Linked DNA regions of Homo sapiens: regions 2, 3 and 4 are each linked to region 1. The links are contacts of gene promoters, found by promoter capture Hi-C in blood cells and fetal thymus (Javierre and others, 2016). All regions are on one chromosome and are shown on one strand. The core of a region is centred on a gene start or on the middle of the fragment in contact, and the rest is flanking DNA. Distances in the headings are between cores, read along the strand shown. Region 1 holds the start of FPR1 (formyl peptide receptor 1). Region 2 holds the start of IGLON5 (IgLON family member 5). Region 3 has its middle 12 kb from the start of C19orf84. Region 4 has its middle 15 kb from the start of SIGLEC10.

Evidence for each region. The method cuts DNA at HindIII sites, captures the fragments that hold promoters and counts their contacts. A CHiCAGO score of 5 or more calls a contact.
Region 2: a contact is called between the fragment with the promoter of IGLON5 here and the fragment with the promoter of FPR1 in region 1, in 5 of 17 cell types (naive B cells, total B cells, activated CD4 T cells and 2 more). The highest score is 7.3, in naive B cells.
Region 3: a fragment that was not itself captured here is called in contact with the fragment with the promoter of FPR1 in region 1 in 1 of 17 cell types (neutrophils); the score reaches 5.2 in neutrophils.
Region 4: a fragment that was not itself captured here is called in contact with the fragment with the promoter of FPR1 in region 1 in 1 of 17 cell types (monocytes); the score reaches 5.4 in monocytes.

Annotation. Positions count from the first base shown.
Region 1 is chr19:51,750,570-51,753,240 of GRCh38, reverse strand. FPR1 (formyl peptide receptor 1) reads left to right here and starts at 1,363. Exons shown (of 2, transcript NM_002029.4): 1 at 1,363-1,427. The HindIII fragment of the contact is 1,877 bases long and covers 293-2,169 here.
Region 2 is chr19:51,310,272-51,312,942 of GRCh38, reverse strand. IGLON5 (IgLON family member 5) reads right to left here and starts at 1,299. Exons shown (of 8, transcript NM_001101372.3): 1 at 1,017-1,299. The coding sequence starts at 1,095. The HindIII fragment of the contact is 5,776 bases long and covers 1-2,671 here.
Region 3 is chr19:51,401,277-51,403,947 of GRCh38, reverse strand. It overlaps the pseudogene NIFKP6. Among named protein-coding and RNA genes, the nearest start is that of C19orf84, 12 kb to the right of the region's middle. The HindIII fragment of the contact is 6,389 bases long and covers 1-2,671 here.
Region 4 is chr19:51,431,805-51,434,475 of GRCh38, reverse strand. No RefSeq gene overlaps it. Among named protein-coding and RNA genes, the nearest start is that of SIGLEC10, 15 kb to the right of the region's middle. The HindIII fragment of the contact is 7,506 bases long and covers 1-2,671 here.

The DNA of each region.
Region 1 (2,671 bases), core at 114-2,613:
AGCCCACTTCCTAACAGGCCACAGACCGGTATCGGTCTGTGTATTGGTCTATGGCCTGGAGGTTGGGGACCCCTGCTGTAATGTGAAGTCAGGAGCTGTGGTAGCTTTCTTGGAGCCATGAAGTGGCAATCCCCAGGAAAAAAAGTCACCATATTAGGGATAAAAAAGAGAAAAGATTAAAATGAATGTAGTTCTTGATGATATTTTCCAGATATAACCTAACCTAGTATTACCCTCTTGCAAAATTCTTGTAAAGTAAACCATAAATTTCGTCTTGGTTCTAAGCTAAGCTTGTCCAGCCCATGGCCTAAGATGGCTTTGAATGCAGCCCAACACAAATTCATAAACTTTCTTAAAACATTATCAGATTTTTGGGGGATTTTTTTTTTTTTTTTTTTTTTTAGCTCATCAGGTATCGTTAGTGTTAGTGTATTTTATGTGTGGCCCAAGACAATTCTTCTTCTTCCAGTGTGGCCCAGGGAAGGCAAAAGATTGGACACCCCTTGTTGAAGCCATTGTTAGGTGTAATTGTAAATTATAAATTACTTAGAATTAAAAACAGCCCGGCTCATGCCTGTAATCCCAGCATTTGGGGAGGCTGAGGCAGGAGGATCACTAAACCCAGGGGTCTGAGACATGCCTGGGCAACGTAGCAGGATACTGTCTCTAAAAGAAAAGAAAAAACAGTCTTAATGCAACAATGCCTTGGTAATAATGCTTTTAGAATCAGTGTCGTTATCTCTGATTCTGTAACTGTCTTACCATATTTCTCCATATCACTCTGATACCCTTGGAAGGATGCTTAACATTTCAGAAAAACGGTTATTTCTTTGGGCTAGAAGACTACAAATGAGCTTCCACAAGATCAGAGGATTATGGGGTTAATCTTGGTGGTGTGCATGGGTGTGGACGCGCTGTCCTGCCAACTGTCTCAACTTCCCCCACTCCCTTACCTCTCTCTGTGTTTCTGGTCTCCATCCCTCATGACTTCTTCTCTTCCTTTCATTGCCTCCCTCTGATTCTTCTCACCACAGTGCTTGCTGCTTTCTTTACCTTGACCCTTGGAGGGAGCAGGGGCCCGGACACTTGGATTTCTTGGCCCTTGTTGTTGAGAGCACTGAACCTCTGCATCCCACAGAGACTGAGGCTGAGAAATACAGTCAGGTACATGAGTTTCTAAACAGGCCCAGCCCACTGTCCTAATGCCATTAAAGCAGACAGTATATTGGTGTATTCTTGGGGCCATCAAAAATCAGAAGAAGCTCAGACTTCCTATTTCCTGCTACCCAGCTGGTTTTAGTTCCTTTACCCCTCCTCCTGTTCCTTGGTGTATGTTTTGCTGCAATCATTAGAGCCTGAGTCACTCTCCCCAGGAGACCCAGACCTAGAACTACCCAGAGCAAGACCACAGCTGGTGAACAGTCCAGGTAAGAAACATATTCTGGGGGACTGGGTAGCTTGACATAGACACACTTAATACACTGGTGAACACAATAGACTCTTTGTTTGAAGAAGGATGTGGAGTTGAAGAATAATTTTTTTAAAGAGGTTCTAAACAGGCCGGGCACGGTGACTCATGCTTGTAATCCCAGCACTTTGGGAGGCCAAGGCAGGTGGATAACTTGAGGTCAGGAGTTCGAGACCAGCCTGGCCAACATGTTGAAACCTCACTTCTATTAAAAATACAAAAATTAGCCAGGCGTGGTGGTGGGCGTCTGTAATTCAAGCTACTTGGGAGGCTGAGGCAGGAGAATTGCTTGAATCTGGGAGGTGGAGGTTGCAGTGAGCTCAGATTGCACCACTGTACTCCAGCCTAGGTGACAGAGTGAGACTCCATCTCAAATAAATAAGTAAATAAATAAATAAACAAATAGGCTCTAGACTTTATTGGGGTCCTGATGGGAATGATGGAATATAGAGACACTATGAGGCTGCAGGAGAGAGAAGGGATAAGTGAAGGAGGGAAGTTCTTGAGTAAATGGGGGAATGAGTTTTATGGGACCAGTAGAGGGTAATTCTTGGATGGAAACACTTGTTTTCTGGTTACAGAGATGAGGGCAGAGAACAGTGATGCAGGAGCCAGCAGGAGGAGAATCTGGTGGAGCAAGAGGCAAGGGCATCAGCTTGAGGGCTTGAGTCGGGATGGGAAAGGATGTTTGGTTTGAAGCTTTCAGGAGAAAGCAAAAGAGCCCTAACGACTTTATGATGGGTCATGGGGAAATGAGTGTAATACAGAAGCAGTCACCTTTCGGATCAGTGATGAGTCTCCACGTGAAGACACTGGTTCTGCATGGTGCATAGGACCCAGTAGCGGAATACAGCCCTGCCCTCTCATGAATCTGCAGACATTGGCTGTCATTTCTCATCAAGCTCCTAGTTTCCTCTTCCGTCACACAGGGATGATGATGTATAATCAATGCTGAGTTTGTTGAGATCAGAGGCAAGAAAGTTGAGGATGTGGTACAATGATTATCAAGCATAAAGTCCTTCATCGATGGCAGCCACCAAGGCCTGTGTTCATTGCAAATCACAGGATTTTTCCCTTGAACCATAATTGGACAAAATTGCACAGGTTTTCCTCTCTGGTATGTTCCAGCTCATTATTGCAGAATCCTCATCATTCATTGCAACAATCTTCTGAACTGGTTGCCTTAGAGATTCTTGAGGACAA
Region 2 (2,671 bases), core at 50-2,549, 440 kb after region 1:
TCCTGAGCGCCCACCCTCCAGCCTCCTGCCTCCTTGCACTCTCCTCCCTTTTCTTAGGGGGAAATCTAGGAATCTCCTTGACCACCCCCTGCCTGCCAGGCCCTACTGGGGAGACTCAAGGTCCAGCTATCTAACCTCAGTGCAGAAACCTGCCCCTGGCCCTCTCCCCAACTGGGAGGGCCGGGCCGGGCCGGGGTTAACCCTTCAACCTGCTTTAACCCTTCCCTTCCGTCTTTCCTTCATCCTCCCATGCCCATCGCTCTTCCACTGTCCAGCCCCACGAACCTAGACATTCAATCAGAGCTTGGGAATCCAAGACCCCAGCCCAGCACCCCAACTTCCTGTATCTCCAGCTCCCTTCTCCCCCACATAACTGCAACCTCCCCAAGTACCAACACTTTCTCTCAACCTAGATGACCCTGCTGGGGGATTTCAGACCCTTCCCCTCTTTTCCTGACCCTGGGACTAGGTCTGTGGACACCCTTGTCCCCTCCTCTTACTGACCCTGGGAAGGCATCCATCCCCTGACCTCTGTCCCGAGATGACTACCCCAGCCCCCGGCAAGGACCTCTTCAGGGACCCTCTCCACGTACAGATGAAGACCCCTAACAGGGCATTATCCCCTGCCCCCCACCCCAACTCAGTTCGGAGATCCGACCCGGGGACCCCGAGTCCAGTGTCTGCCCCCTCCTCAACAGGAGCCGCAGACTCCTGCCCCCAGGCAGGGCTAGGTGTCTGCGACCCTCTTGCCTGCTCGGGGAAGCAGACCTCCGCCCCTAGACCCGGCTCCGGCCCGAGGACGCCGACCCCTGCCCCGGGGCGCGGACCCCCACGTCCGAGGTCCCCCTGCCCAGCCAGGGAATGCAGACCCCACCCCCGGGCCCAGACCCCGGCGTCCCGGGGCCTCCCCGCGCCGGCCCAGGGATGCAGCCCTCGACCCCCACCCCTGATCCCCCGATTACCCACCCAAGACCCTGGCGTCCCGGCCGAGCCCCCCGCCCCCGGCGCTGCGGTACCTCGGCTGATGACGGCCAAGCCGGCCAGGGCGGCGGCGGCGAGAAGCCGGAGCCGGGCCCCGGGCGCAGGGGGGGGCATCGCGGCAGAGGCGGCGCGGAGGGGGAGGGGAAAGGGGGGGCCGGTCCGGGGCGCGCGAGGCCTGGGGGGAGAGGGGGGAGGGGGAGGGGGACCCCGCCTGCGCTGCACCGGCCCGGGGGGCGGCGGGGGCGGGGGGAGGGGGCTGGGGGGGCGCGACGAGGCGGCTGGAGCTGCTGCAGACCCGGGGAGGGGGGCGGCGCTGACGGGCAGGGAGACCGGCCAATCAGGAGAGGTGGGGGGCCGGGGAGGCGGGGTCAAGGGGGGGTTGCTTGTTGGAGGGAGAGGCCTTTGTTACTGCGGCCCGGCCCCTACCCCTCCCGCCCCAGGCGTCCCCACGTCTTTCCACCACATCCGCAGAACACGGAGTCTGGGATACTTCCTAAAACCCAGCTCCCTCCTCCTTCAAGTCCCAATCTCATCCTCCCATGGACCTAGGAGACTAGCCCCAGTCCCTCCTCTCTCAGACCCAGGAGCCCAGGTCCCCAGCCCCTCCTCCCTCAGACCCTGGAGTCCAGGCCCCCAGCCCCTCCTCCCTCAGACCCAGGAGTCCAGGCCCCCAGCCCCTCCTCCCTCAGACCCAGGAGTCCAGGCCCCCAGCCCCTCCTCCCTCAGCCCAGGAGTCCAGGCCCCCAGCCCCTCCTCCCTCAGACCCAGGAGTCCAGGCCCAGCCCCTCCTCTCTCAGACCCTGGAGCCCAGGCCCCCAGCCCCTCCTCCCTCAGACCCAGGAGTCCAGGCCCCCAGCCCCTCCTCCCTCAGACCCTGGAGCCCAGGCCCCCAGCCCCTCCTCCCTCAGACCCAGGAGTCCAGGCCCCCAGCCCCTCCTCCCTCAGACCCAGGAGTCCAGGCCCCCAGCCCCTCCTCCCTCAGACCCTGGAGCCCAGGCCCCCAGCCCCTCCTCCCTCAGACCCAGGAGTCCAGGCCCCCAGCCCCTCCTCCCTCAGACCCAGGAGTCCAGGCCCCCAGCCCCTCCTCCCTCAGACCCTGGAGCCCAGGCCCCCAGCCCCTCGTCCCTCAGACCCAGGAGTCCAGGCCCCCAGCCCCTCCTCCCTCAGACCCAGGAGTCCAGGCCCCCAGCTCCTCCTCCCTCAGACCCTGGAGTCCAGGCCCCCAGCCCCTCCTCCCTCAGAGCCAGGAGTCCAGGTCCCCAGCCCCTCCTCCCTCAGGCCCAGGAGTCCAGGTCCCCAGTTCCTCCTCCCTCAGACCTAGGAGTCCAGGCCCCCAGCCCCTCCTCCCTCAGACCCAGGAGTCCAGGTCCCCAGTCCCTCCTCCCTCAGACCCTGGAGTCCAGGCCCCCAGCCCCTCCTCCCTCAGACCCTGGAGTCCAGGCCCCCAGCCCCTCCTCCCTCAGACCCAGGAGTCCAGGCCCCCAGCCCCTCCTCCCTCAGACCCAGGAGTCCAGGCCCCCAGCCCCCTCCTCCCTCAGACCCAGGAGGCCAGGCCCCCAGGCCCCTCTTCCTGTGGGCCACAGTTCAGCTTTTCCATCTATTTTCATGGATAACGAAAACACTGACTTTTGGAGTGAAATTTGCTTTTTTCCTCCACCCCAACCCTCATCCCCAGTATAATAAGGCAATG
Region 3 (2,671 bases), core at 118-2,617, 350 kb after region 1:
AGCCTGCATCTATTGTTTCCCAGACATCTGTATGTGGACACCCTGCAAGTACCTCATGTCCAAAACACATGCATTATCCTCTCATGCTCTCCTAAATGCTCCCAGCCTGAAAGCCCTTCTTCCCTTCATATCCTTGATCTTAGCTTACCATGCCACCATTGCCCAAACTCAAAATCTTAGGAACAACTCTGACTTATCCCTCACTCCACGTATCGGCAACTCCCGGTCATTCTCCCTCCTAAATATCAGGTGGTGCTGCCTCCCCCACCCTCCCAGCTGCCACTGATCCTGATGTTCCATCACTTGGACTGTGTATACATACGTATGTTAAAAGAATAGATGCCCGTTTTCTGCCTCATGGGAGCTGGGAGCCCGACGTTTCCAGGAGCACCGCGTGGAGTTAGTGTCGGCCGCTTTTGGCATGGCAGCTTTTTCTGGCCTGGCTGAGATCTCACTGCTTAACCCGCAGGAAGATGTCCAGTTTCAAAAGGAGGTGGCGCAGGTTTGCAAGCACATAACCCAGCAAAAAAAACAAGAACAACCCTACTTAACGAAACCCAGATCTTTTCATATTTCTCCCAGTTTGGCACTGTGACACAGTTCAGACTGTCCAGAAGTAAAATGACTGGAAATGGCAAAGGCTATGCATTTGTGGAGTTTGAGTCTGAGGATGTTGCCAAGATAGTTGCTGAAACAATGAACAACTACCTGTTTGGTGAAAGACTCTTGGAGTGTCATTTTATGCCACCTGGAAAAGTACATAAAGAACTCTTTAAACACTGGAATATTCCATTTAAGCAGCCATCAAATCCATCAGCGAAATGGTATAATCAGAATCGGACACTAACACAAAAGCTACAGATGAGGAGTGATTTAAAAAGAAATAAAGATTACTCAGGAAGAAATTAGCTGGCTGGGCACGGTGGCTCACGCCCGTAATCCCAGCACTTTGGGAGGCCAAGGTGGGTGGATCACCTGAGGTCAGGTATTGGGGAAAAGCTGAGTGTTGGGAAAAAAGCTGAGGCAGGGCTTGCATGTCTGACATAATGTAAAAGAGTCTTGGAACATGTCTGGGGTCCAGGGTCTAAAACCTCTCATGGCCTTTGGAACACCAAGCTCTGTGCTAAAGGGTGGAAGGCTGCCCTGTGGCACCATAATCTAAGCCCAGGGCATAAAACCCCTCGTGGCTTGGATGGAATCCAGGGCTCAGAGCATGGAACCCCTCATGGCCTCTGGAATGTGTCTAGACTTGCCGGCTCCTTGTTTCTAGCATTCCCAGGCTCATAGATCAATTGTATCTTAAACTAGAAGAACATGTTTCCCATTATCTCAAGTAGCAGAAAATGTTCCATATGCTTCAAAGAAAATGCTAAACTGTCACAGCTGTAAATCATGCACTTGATGCAGTGCTTTCTTTCAACCCCCACATCCTCACCACCTGCCTCTTTGTTTGATCACCAATAAACAGTACGGGCTTCCAGAGCTCGGGGCCTTCGCAGCCTCCATACTAGTGTTGGACCCCTGGACCCACCTTATGCACTTTTAACTTGTCTTTTCTCATTCCTTTGACTCTGCCAGACTTTGTAGCCCCCATGGCCTGGTGCTGGGTCTGATCACCCCAGCATTCCTGGCGCCCAACATGGGACAATGAAGATCCCGGTGAAGGAACGCTAGAGGACATGAAAGTGGAGGAAGTATCATCAGAGGACACCCGAGGATGACTGAAAGAAGCTCGGTGGGAAAGCTGAGTGCTCAGAAGAACCAGGGTAACAATCAGACAAAGTGAAAGCGAACATTCTGCTTATCTGAATTTCTTAAGGCATTTATTACAAAAAGGGGCAGTGAAAGTTAGTACTCAAAATTTGTTATCACTCTTTAGTACAGTAAAGCAGTTTTGCCCATGGTTTCCAGAACAAGGGACTATGGAGTTGGATGAATGGGAGAGAACTGGCAGAGATTTTAAAAAGGCGTATAAAGAGGGAGCAAAAATTCCAGTTTCCGTTTGGTCAATGTGGGCACTAATAAAGGCAGCCCTTGAGCCCTTTCAAACAGATGATGAGGGAGATTCAGATGAGGAAGAGGAGGACGAGTGTAAAAAACTAACTTCAGATTCTGAATGCAAGGAGCAAAAAAGAGAAGAGGTTAAAAAAGGGGAAACCGAAAAAAGTATATTTTACTAGCCCATCGGCTCTACCTGCTGAATTAAGTGAATGGCCACCTCCTCCCTTTCCCCTTAATGGGCGAGAAAGTGAATTAGCTATAAAATTTTCTGCTCCTGTAGTTGCAACATTAAAACCTGGAGCAATTGGTGGTGCTATGCAAAATTCTATTCAAAAAGCTAGAGCAAGCCGGGCGCAGTGGCTCACGCCTGTAATCCCAGCACTTTGGGAGGCCGAGGTGGGCGGATCACGAGGTCAGGAGATCAAGACCATCCTGGCTAACACGGTGAAACCCCATCTCTACTAAAGACACACAAAAATTAGCCGGGCGTGGTGGTGTGCGCCTGTAGTCCCAGCTATTCGGGAGGCTGAGGCAGGAGAATCGCTTGAACCCGGGAGGCAGAGGTTGCAATGAGCCGAGATCGCACCACTGGACTGTAGCCTGAGCAACAGAGCGAGACTCTGTTAAAAAAAAAAAAAAAAAAAGCTAGAACTGAGGAAGACCTTGAAGC
Region 4 (2,671 bases), core at 115-2,614, 320 kb after region 1:
AAAGTGTATTGTATACATGCAATTGAATATTACTCAGCCTTAAAATAGAAGGAGAAGCTGGGCTGGGGCATGGTGGCTCACGCCTGTAATCCCAGCACTTTGGGAGGCCGAGGTGGGCATATCACTTGAAGTCAGGAGTTCTAGACCAGCCTGGCCCACATGATGAAACCCCATCTCTGCTAAAAATATAAAAATTAGCCAGGCATGATGACATGTGCCTGTAATCCCAGGTACTCGGGAGACTGAGGCAGCAGAATCGCTTGAACCTGGGAGGCAGAGGTTTCAGTGAGCCCAATCATGCCACTGCACTGCAGCCTGGGCAACAGAGCAAGACCCTATCTCAAAAAAAAAGAAAAAGAAAAAGAAAACAAAAAACAAAACAAACAAAAAAACCAAGGAGACAGGCATGGTGGCTCACACCTGTAATCCCAGCACTTTGGGAGGCCGAGGCAGGTGGATCACCTGAGGTCAGGAGTTCGAGACCAGCCTGGCCAATATGGTGAAACCCCATCTCTACTAAAAAAAAAAAAAAAAAGAAAAGAAAATACAGGCCGGGCACGGTGGCTCACGCCTGTAATCCCAGCACTTTGGGAGGCCGAGGCGGGTGGATCACCTGAGGTCAGGCATTTGAGAGCAGCCTGACCAACATGGTGAAACCCTATCTCTACTAAAAATACAAAATTAGCCAGGTGTGGTGGCACGTACCTGTGATCCCAGCTACTCGGGAGGCTGAAGCAGGAGAATTGCTTGAACCTGGGAGGTGGAGGTTGCAGTGAGCCAAGATGACGCCACTGGACTCCAGCCTGGGCAACAAGAGCGAAACTCTGTCTCAAAAAAAAAAAAAAAAAAAAATTAGCCGGGCCTGGTGGCAGGTGCCTGTAATCCCAGCTACTCAGGAGGCTGAGGCAGGAGAATTGTTTGAACCTGGGAGGTGGAGGTTGCAGTGAGCTGAGATCACGCCATCACACTCCAGCCTGGGCGACAAGAGTGAAACTCCGTCTCAAACAACAACAAAAAAAAAAAAAAAAAAAAAAAAGAAGGAGAAGCTAGCACATGATGCAGCGTGGATGAACCTTAAATATATTCTAAGTCAGTCACAGCAGGACAAACACTGTATGATTCCACTTATATGAGGTGTGTAGAGGAGGCAAATTCACAGACACGGAAAGTAGAGCCATGCTTGCCAGGGGCTGTGATCAGAAAGAAATAGGGGGTTTTCACCTCTTTGATGCAGTTTCAGTTTGGGAAGGTGAAGAAACTTCTGGAGATAAATCATAGTGATTCATAACAACGTGAGTGTACTTGGTGCAACTTCTCTAAACACTGAAAAATAGTTAAAACGGTAATTTTTTTCTTCTGTATATTTTACCACAATTAAGAAAAAAGCTACTGAAGATTTCATAGCCACCTCACCAAAAAAGAAAAGCAGATGGCGAACAAGGCCGTGAAAATAGCCTCAATATAATTTGTCATTAGGTAATTGTAGAATAGAAGAAGAATGAGGTAGAATTACATACCTAAGAAAAATGACTGAAAAGTACAACAAAGGTAACAAGAAATTTTAAAATATGTGGATGATATCACATGCTAGCAAGGATGTGAAGTGATCAGAGCTCATGTCTACTGCTGGTAGGAATACAAAATGGTATATACACTTTGGAGAATAGTTTGTCAATTTTGTATAAATTTAAACTTACACTTGACCAAGTGTACGTCTGACCAAGCACTCGACTCCTAGGTTTTTACTCAAGGGAATTAAAAACTTATGTTCACACGCAGAAAGTTGAATGGAATGTTTATAGCAACATTATTTTAGAGTCACCAGAACCTGAAAACAGTTGCAATGCTCCGCAAATGGCAAATACATGCAAAATGAGAGACCATGAAAACAATGGAGCACCAGTCAACAATTAAACTAAAATGACAGATTTATACCCAGCCCCATAGATGAGCCTCAAAAGCATTATGCCAAGTAAATGAAGCCAGATTTTAGAGGATACATTTTGTATGATTCCATTTATATGACATTCTATAAAAAGGCAAAATGGCAGGGATGGAGAATAGATCCGTGTTTTCTCAGGGACTAAGTGTAGAGGGAGGATTGACTACCTAGAGTCAGCAGAGGGAGGAAATGTTCAGGTAATGACACTTTTCATTGTCTTCACAGCGGTTGTGTATATAACTATATGCATCGGTCAACCCACATAAAATTACATATGATAAAGAATGAATTCAACCATATCTAACTTTAAGTAAATTTTTAAAAATTAAACATAAGATGCCACTGCACTGTCACTAGAACTCTTAAAATATAAAGCATAAGCTGGGCACAGTGGCTCACGCCTATAATCCTAACACTTTGGGAGGCCAAAGAGGAAGAATTGCTTGAGGTCAGGAGTTCAAGACCAGCCTGGGCAACATGGTGAGACCTCATCTCTACAAAAAATACAAAAATTAGCCGGGCGTGGCAGTGAGCACCTGTGGTCCCAACTACTCGGGAGGCTGAGGTGGGAGGATTGCTTGAGCCAAGGAGGTGGAGGTTGCAGTGAGCCGAGATGGTGCCACTGCACTCCAGCCTGGCGAGAGATTGAGACTCCGTCTCAAAAGAAAAAAAAATACTAATTGTTTGCAAGAATATGGACAAGTGGGAGCCCCTTTGCACTGCATGTAA